2 separate regions of the Homo sapiens genome follow, and region 2 is linked to region 1. Evidence: promoter capture Hi-C in human tissues and cell types (Jung and others, 2019). All regions are on one chromosome and are shown on one strand. Each heading gives the region's core, a stretch centred on a gene start or on the middle of the fragment in contact. The rest is flanking DNA. Distances are from core to core; before and after follow the strand shown. Region 1 holds the start of IDH3B (isocitrate dehydrogenase (NAD(+)) 3 non-catalytic subunit beta). Region 2 overlaps ZNF343 (zinc finger protein 343).

Region 1 (3,871 bases), core at 477-2,976:
AAAATCAAATGAGGAGATTAAAGCGCGGAAGACAAAAGAAAAGGGGCAGCTAGGCACGGTGGCTCACGCCTATAATCGCAGCAGTTTGGGATGCAGAGGTGGGTGGATCACTTGAGGTCAAGAGTTCGAGACCAGCCTGGCCAACATGGTAAAACCCTCTCTCTACTAAAAATACAAAAATTAGCCTGGGCATGGTGGCTCACACTTGTAATCCCAGCACTGTGGGAGGCCAAGGCGGGCAGATCACAAGGTCAGGAGTTCGAGACCAGCCTGACCAACATGGTGAAACCCCATCTCTACTAAAAATACAAAAATTAGCCAGGCATGGTGGCACGCTCCTGTAATACCAGCCAGCTACTCAGGAGGCTGAGGCAGGAGAATCACTTGAACCCGGGAGGCAGAGGTTGCAGTGAGCTGAGATGGCAACATTGCACTCCAGCCTGGGCGACAGAGCGAGACTCTGTCTTAAAACAAAACAAACACAAAAATTAGCTGGGTGTGGTGGTGCACACCTGTAGTCGCAGCTACTCAGGAGGCTGAGGCAGGAGAATTGCTTGAACCAGGGACGGGGAGGTTGCAGTGAGCCGAGATCGCGCCACTGCACTCCAGCCTGGGCGACAGAGCAAGAAGAAACAAAGAGGAAGGAAGGGAGGGGAAAAAAAAAAAAAGAAAAGGGGCAGCTAAAAGTGGTATTCCAGAAATGCAATGAATAAGATTTGATGACAGTTGATGTAGCCTCAGGACAGACTCAGAACCCCTGGAACTTTTCTGCATAGACAGCTGACATGATCTCTCAACTCCTGGGCTCCCAATGGGAAGGAACAAATGTCCAAATACCAATGGTGGTTGCCCTGGAGTTAATATAATTGCATAGCATGTGGGGAGAAGGGCTTAATAAACATTTGGTCATTTGATTTTAAATGGCACATGGACAAGTGGCAAGAGGGCACACATACCAATGATGGCCACTTTGTTCTCCTTCATGGAACTCAGCACCTGCTCCAGCTTCTCCTCAGATGCCATATTCTGCACCTCACTCAGGTGGTGCTCCTGGAACTCCACTGGGACAGCGGCAGCCTTCAGAGACAGGTTCCCAAAACATCACAGTCAAGGCCAAGTCCTTTCCAACACACTACTGTCCTCTACTGTCTGATCCCCGAGGCCACTCACCTTGAACACCTCCTTGACGGCGTGCATCAGCTCAGGCCCCACACCGTCTCCCGGAAGCATGGTCACGGGAAAGGAGCCCTCCACCCTCACGTCCTCGGCCTCAATTGGGGGAAGAGGGGAGAAGTAAAGATAGAGCTGGGGCGGGAGCACGGATCCTGGGAGTAGAGAAGTAGGGAGACCCGGGAGGGGTGGGGAAAAGCCAGGGGAGGGAGCAGCGAGGAAGGGACAGGGTCGTAAGAGAGACCCCAGCCAGATTCGTGCATACCTGGCTCCGCGATGCAGCGTGCGCCGCGGCCGAGGTACTCAGACCTCTCCATGCCCCAGGGTTCCCGGCGGAGACCAGCGCCTGCAACAGGGACACACAAGCCTGTAAGGTCAGCTTTGAGACATCCAGACCCCGAACACTACAGTTGACTTTGCCCTGTTTAGGAAACCCTAGGACAAACTCTCCGCTCCTTCGCCCGCCCCTGCCCGACATGTCCCGGGGCCTCACTCGGGTCAGCCAGCGGACTCCGCTCAATGCCGCCATGTTTCCCGCAGGAAGTCGCGTGGGAAGTGACGCCTGAAGCTGGCGCGGCCCCGTACCCCGACTTCCGGCCTGTACTGAGTTCCTGGTATTTCTCTCTCTGCGCCAACCAGCACTGCTTGCTCACGCCTGTTTCTCCTTTTCCTTGCCGGTGGGGAGGTCATGGGATGCGCAAGCACTTTGTCTCTTGCTTTGTTTTCAGTCGCCATATTTAATCTACGTCGAAACTTCAAAATAACATTAGGGGGAAAAATGTAGCGTCATGTTTATCAGACGAGGACCTGAGCTTAACAAGCGATTGAGAGAAAATCCTTGGGAAGCTGTTAAAATTTGTGTGTCAATGCGTTTGTTATTCTTTTAACCAGTACTCACTGAATACCTGTATGTCAGGCTCTCGAGGAATACAGTACAGACATGGGAGGTGTGTGTCGGGTTTCTCCGCCAGTCTCCGAGAGTGCCCAGGACCTCTGTATTACCCGTCGCCTCGTAGTTTTTTCTTACAGGGTTTTGTTCTTTGCTCTGACAGTTATTTCCCTAATAGTGTGTCCCGGACTTGAACTCCCCAGGACAGGCCCATAACTAGTGTCAGAAATGAGTTCAAGCGTGTAAGTGTGACTAAAGGGAATTTCAGACTGATCCTTAAAGTAACAATCATAAAAACTAAAAAAAGCCTGGACAACATAGGGAGACCTCGACTCTACAAAAAATTTAAAAATTAGCCAGGCGTGGTGACACACCTGTAGTCCCAGCTACTTAGGAGGCTGAGGTGGGAGGATCACTTAAGCCCGGGAGGTGGAAGCCGTAGTGAGCCGTGATGGCACCACTGCACTCCAGCCTGGGAGACGGGGCGAGACCCGTCTCAAAACAATTACAGTCACGATTTTTTTTTTTTTTTTTTTGAGACAGAGTCTCGCTCTGTCGCCCAGGCTGGAGTGCGGTGGTGCGATCTCGGCTCACTGCAAGCTCCGCCTCCTGGGTTCACCCCATTCTCCTGCCTCAGCCTCCCGAGTAGCGCCCGCCATCACACCTGGCTAATTTTTTTTTTTTTTTTTTTTTTTTTTTGTATTTTTAGTGGAGACGGGGTTTCACCGTGGTCTCGATCTCCTGACGTCGTGATCCGCCCGCCTCGGCCTCCCAAAGTGCTGGGATTACAGGCGTGAGCCACCAAGCCCGGCCTCCAGTCACGATTTTAGGTGTGTACAATTGACACACCTAAAGACAAACTGGTACAGGAAGATTTGCCTCACCCGCTCTTCTGGAAGTATGGTTTTGGATCACCTATCCAGATGGACCAGAGCTCTTGTTAAAAGTGCAGGCTTGTGAGTCATACTTCATTTGCTGAATCCAAATCTCAGTGATGGGGGCCCAGAAAATATATCTCTAACAGGCTCCCCGTTAATACACACTGAAATTTAAGAACCACTAGCTAGGTTCTCTGTGATAAGTTCCTCCTTCGTATATACCTCAACCAGCCAAAAAGGTGGCAACGCAAAGGCATTCCCAGTGCTTCTATTCTTGGGGAATATGCATAGGCTTTGTGCCTCCTCTGCAATCCTTTAGGTGCGACATTCTCCTATATAGTAGTAGGATGAGAAGATTAAACTAGGTAATGTGTAAGAGTTTTGAACAAATGAAAAGTACTGGGTAAATATAGAGCTGTTATTATAGCTAATATAATATTAGTATAACACACTCCTCTATTTCCATTCATATATCCCATGAAACCAACCAAAACCAGAGAGCACCACCGTCTTGCTCCCATAGACTCCCTCGTCCCAGCTTCCACATCACTATTAATATTCGTCACTATTTTTCTTCTCCAAATATTTCTCCTTCTGACTAAGAAAAAAATGGAAGATTTATAACCTCTGCCTCCCGGGTTCAAGCGATTTTCCTGCCTCCGCCTCCCTGGTAGCTGGGATTACAGGCACGCGCCACCACACCCGGCTAATTTTTGTATTTTTATTAGAGACAGGGTTTCACCATGTTGGCCAGGCTGGTCTTGAGCTCCTGACCTCAGGTGATCTGCCACCCTCAGCCTCCCAAAGTGCTGGGATTACAGGCATGAGCCACCGCACCCCGCCAAATTTACTCTTTTTAAAAAACTACATTTTCTGTTACGTCAGGAAATGTGGGATAAGAAAGAAGAGAGATGTACCATCTTAATCCAATCTC
Region 2 (3,587 bases), core at 20-2,519, 180 kb before region 1:
CCTTCCCACAGTCCCTACACATAAACTTCTCTCCTAAGTGTGTCCTTTTGTGCATGCTCAAGGCTGACTGATGGCTACAGTTGCCCGTACTCTATACTCATAAGGCTCCTCTCCTGAACGTGTCCCTCCCATGCCTGATAAGGGCTGACACATCTCTGGAACTTCACTCACAATCTGTGTACACAGGGTCTACTCCCCATGTGTCTCTCTGGGGTAACATGAGGCTTGACTGGTCACTCAGGTCTTGTTCATGACCCCTGCATACACAGGTTTCTCCCGTCAGTGTGTCCTCTGGTGTCTGATGAGATTTGACTTATGACTAAAGCCTCGCCCACACTCCCTACAAACATAATGCTTCTCCCCTGAGTGTGTCCTCTGGTGGACAAGGAGGAGTGATTTCCGGCTAAAGCCTCGGCCACACTCACTGCACACGTAAGGCTTCTCTCCTGAGTGTGTCCTCTCATGTACAATGAGGGTTGACTTGTCACAAAAGCCTCGCCCACATTCCCTGCAAATATAAGGCTTCTCATTTGAGTGCGTCCTCTGGTGTCTGATGAGATTTGACTTCTGGCTAAAACCTCGCCTACACTCCCTGCAGACATAATGCTTCTCCCCTGAGTGTGTCCTCTGGTGGACAAGGAGGAGTGATTTCCGACTAAAGCCTCGGCCACACTCACCACACACATAAGGCTTCTCTCCAGAGTGCGTCCGCTCGTGTATGATGAGGGTTGACTTGTCACAAAAGCCTCGCCCACACTCCCTGCAAACATAAGGCTTCTCATCCAAGTGTGTCCTCTGGTGTTTGATGAGATCTGAGTTCTGGCTAAAGCCTCGCCCACACTCCCTGCAAACATAAGGCTTCTCCCCTGAGTGTATCCTCTGGTGTTTTCTGAGGGTTGACTTATCACAAAAGCTTCGTCCACACTCCAGGCACACATAGGGTTTCTCACCGGAGTGTGTCCTCTGGTGTCTGATGAAGGATGACTTCTCGCTAAAGCCTCGCCCACACTCGCTGCAAACATAGGGCTTCTCCTCTGAGTGAGTCCACTGATGTCTATTGAGGATGGACTTACTTCTAAAGCTTTGCCCACACTCCCTGCACAAATAAGGCTTCTCTTCTGAATGTGTTCTCTGGTGTCTGCTGAGGTTGGACTTCTGGCTAAAACCTCGCCCGCACTCACTGCACACATAAGGCTTCTCCATCGAGTGTATACGATGGTGTCTGATGAGGGTTGATCTATCTTTAAAGCTTCGCCCACAATCACTGCAAATGTAGGGCTTCTTCCCTAAGAGGGTCCTCGGGTTTGTAATAAAGTTTGATTCCAGGTTATGGTCCGGTTCATACTCTCTACAGTTGATTGCTCCAAATCTCAAGGTTTCTAATTCCTTCAAGCCTTTGTCTAGCTGCACAGGGTTTGGTCTTTGGGCTGAGCTGGGCTCTGTTTCTACCACCATGTTGCCTTTTCTAGGACTTGCTGACTGTCTTTGGAGTGGGCTGGGGAATGCCCTTGAGGTTTCTCTCTCCTCTGTCCTTGCAGACCAGGGTTTGGAGCCACCTCCTCTCTCCTGACCTTCTGCATTTTCAAACCAACAGCTTACATGGGAATACTGCTGCCCCTGCTGTTTCCAATGCCCTGGGCTAGAATTCCCTGGATGGAAGTGATTTTCTGCACATAAGCCCAGGAAGATCTGAAGTACATGTTGACTGAGGAACTGCTGACAGGAGAAGGCCAGAAGGCAGGAGGAACAAGTGTAGATTTCTGGCTTTGGTTCTGCTGAAGAATGAAAGTTTTCTGTTAGAGTAGCCATAAGTAGGGCTGCTGAGTTGTTCTGCCTTGTCTTAGGACAGAGAATGTTTTACTGCCATGCCTATAATTGATAATATAAGTATAACACAATTTGCTTCTGAACAATGATTCCTTTACATTCCATCACATTTTCTATTGCAATCCAGAAAATCCATAACAAAAATATCTTGAGAAACCAGGAACCTCTCAAGTGAGTATTCTGCTCTGTAAACAGCTTCAATCATAGTTAGCCTTCTCCTAAGCCATAGACATTCACATTGGTATATACTGTCCACAGCTCTTTGTTCTGCTTGGAGATAGTGGTCTCTATGACACATGTGGAAATCTCCTTCATGACTTTTCTTATTATATAAAAAAGGGTCTGATAGACATAAAAAGTCCCTCATTCTGGAGGGCTTCCGAATGTAGGAGAAAGTGTATGGAATACTGGTTAAAGAAATTATTGTATATAAAACAAATATAAATTTCAGGCTGCCCACCTGTAAACAAAGACTTATTAGAAAATGCCAAAGTACTAGGTTCTCTACTAAGTATTATGAATTCAGTAATGAACAAGAAAGACATGGTCCATGATTTTAGGATTCTGGCACCAAGCCAAAACAACAAAATCTGCCTTTCTTTCCACTTTTCATAAATCAGTAAAAAGAAAAACTTTTCATTTACAGCAGCACCTGCCTACAAAATATCAAAACTAGATGTTGCATTTCATCACAACATGATCTATCCAACTGATGCTGAGAAATGACCACGTACTTGGCCCCAGACCCTACTGGGCCTAACTGAAGACTTCTGCCTAACTAATGAACACTGGAATCTTTATAATCAACTGTATCTGTCCTTAAAAACTCATCCTATCCTATCTGGAATGCTAGTTTTCAAACCTTAATTAGCATAACCATCATGAAACTGCTCCCTAACAGTAAAACCTTTTATTTTTCCCCCTTGCCAAACTATACAGTGAATTTCTTCACTGCTGTGTCTCCTTTCCTGTTAAGTAAATGATTTGTGCCATTTGATTTTTTGACCTTTTGTGGTCTTTGTTTTAGTTTTTGACAATGTGTTTTCCCTTTGGTTGCTCTGACAAGGCACCGACCAGTGCTGGAACTGCTGGACTGCCAGAGGAACACAGCTGTGTGTAGACTGAGCCGTATGTGCTCAAAGCTGCTTGTCTGGCAGCCTTGCCATGGGTGAGGCTCTCAGCAGCTGTCAGGCTCTGCTTGCTGTCACTGAGCACTCCCTGAGTCTGTTTGGTTTACTTGGGTTCTCAAAGTAACTCATTATTTGTTTCTATTTCTGACCCGTCATCTCTTATAAGACTTGTGGTCATTCTGGTACTTTGTGACGTGAACTTTTTGCCTTGATATTTTGACTGTGATTCGCTGCCATCTTTTTGGATTATCTAGAAGCATACCAAGTCATTCAGACTGCAGTCTGAATATATATACGGCAGTGATGTAACACCCTACATCACTGAGAAGCATTTCAGTAGGAGAAGAAATCTCATTTGTGTCTATTTTGTGTCAAACACTGGAACCAAAAGCTCCTTACACTTAACACCCTGTTAAAGGGACCCCATGTATACTCACTATGATTCTAATCCCTACGCCTTACTAGGAAAGTATCATCATTTCACTAAAGATAATTTAGATTTACTGAGGCCATTTTGAGGAACTCTGTTTTCTATCATGCCCCTTTGCTATATAATAATTCAGTATATATTTCTAAAGAACTATATAGTTGAGAGATCTGTCTTGCATCATCAATATATTTACTCATTTG

What was found. Contacts are between HindIII fragments. The study calls those that stand out against the background at their distance.
Region 2: a contact is called between a fragment that was not itself captured here and the fragment with the promoter of IDH3B in region 1, in 1 of the 25 tissues and cell types used here (dorsolateral prefrontal cortex).

The regions. Positions count from the first base shown.
Region 1 is chr20:2,662,490-2,666,360 of GRCh38, forward strand. IDH3B (isocitrate dehydrogenase (NAD(+)) 3 non-catalytic subunit beta) reads right to left here and starts at 1,727. Exons shown (of 12, transcript NM_006899.5): 1 at 1,664-1,727; 2 at 1,436-1,516; 3 at 1,171-1,269; 4 at 957-1,077. The coding sequence starts at 1,699. IDH3B-DT (IDH3B divergent transcript) reads left to right here and starts at 1,785. Exons shown (of 3, transcript NR_186432.1): 1 at 1,785-2,117; 2 at 2,769-3,015. RefSeq lists enhancers at 4-791, 2,365-3,150. The HindIII fragment of the contact is 10,496 bases long and covers 1-3,871 here.
Region 2 is chr20:2,482,882-2,486,468 of GRCh38, forward strand. It overlaps ZNF343 (zinc finger protein 343), which reads right to left. Exons shown (of 6, transcript NM_024325.6): 6 at 1-1,775. The coding sequence ends at 280. Among named protein-coding and RNA genes, the nearest start is that of SNRPB, 14 kb to the left of the region's middle. The HindIII fragment of the contact is 4,668 bases long and covers 1-3,587 here.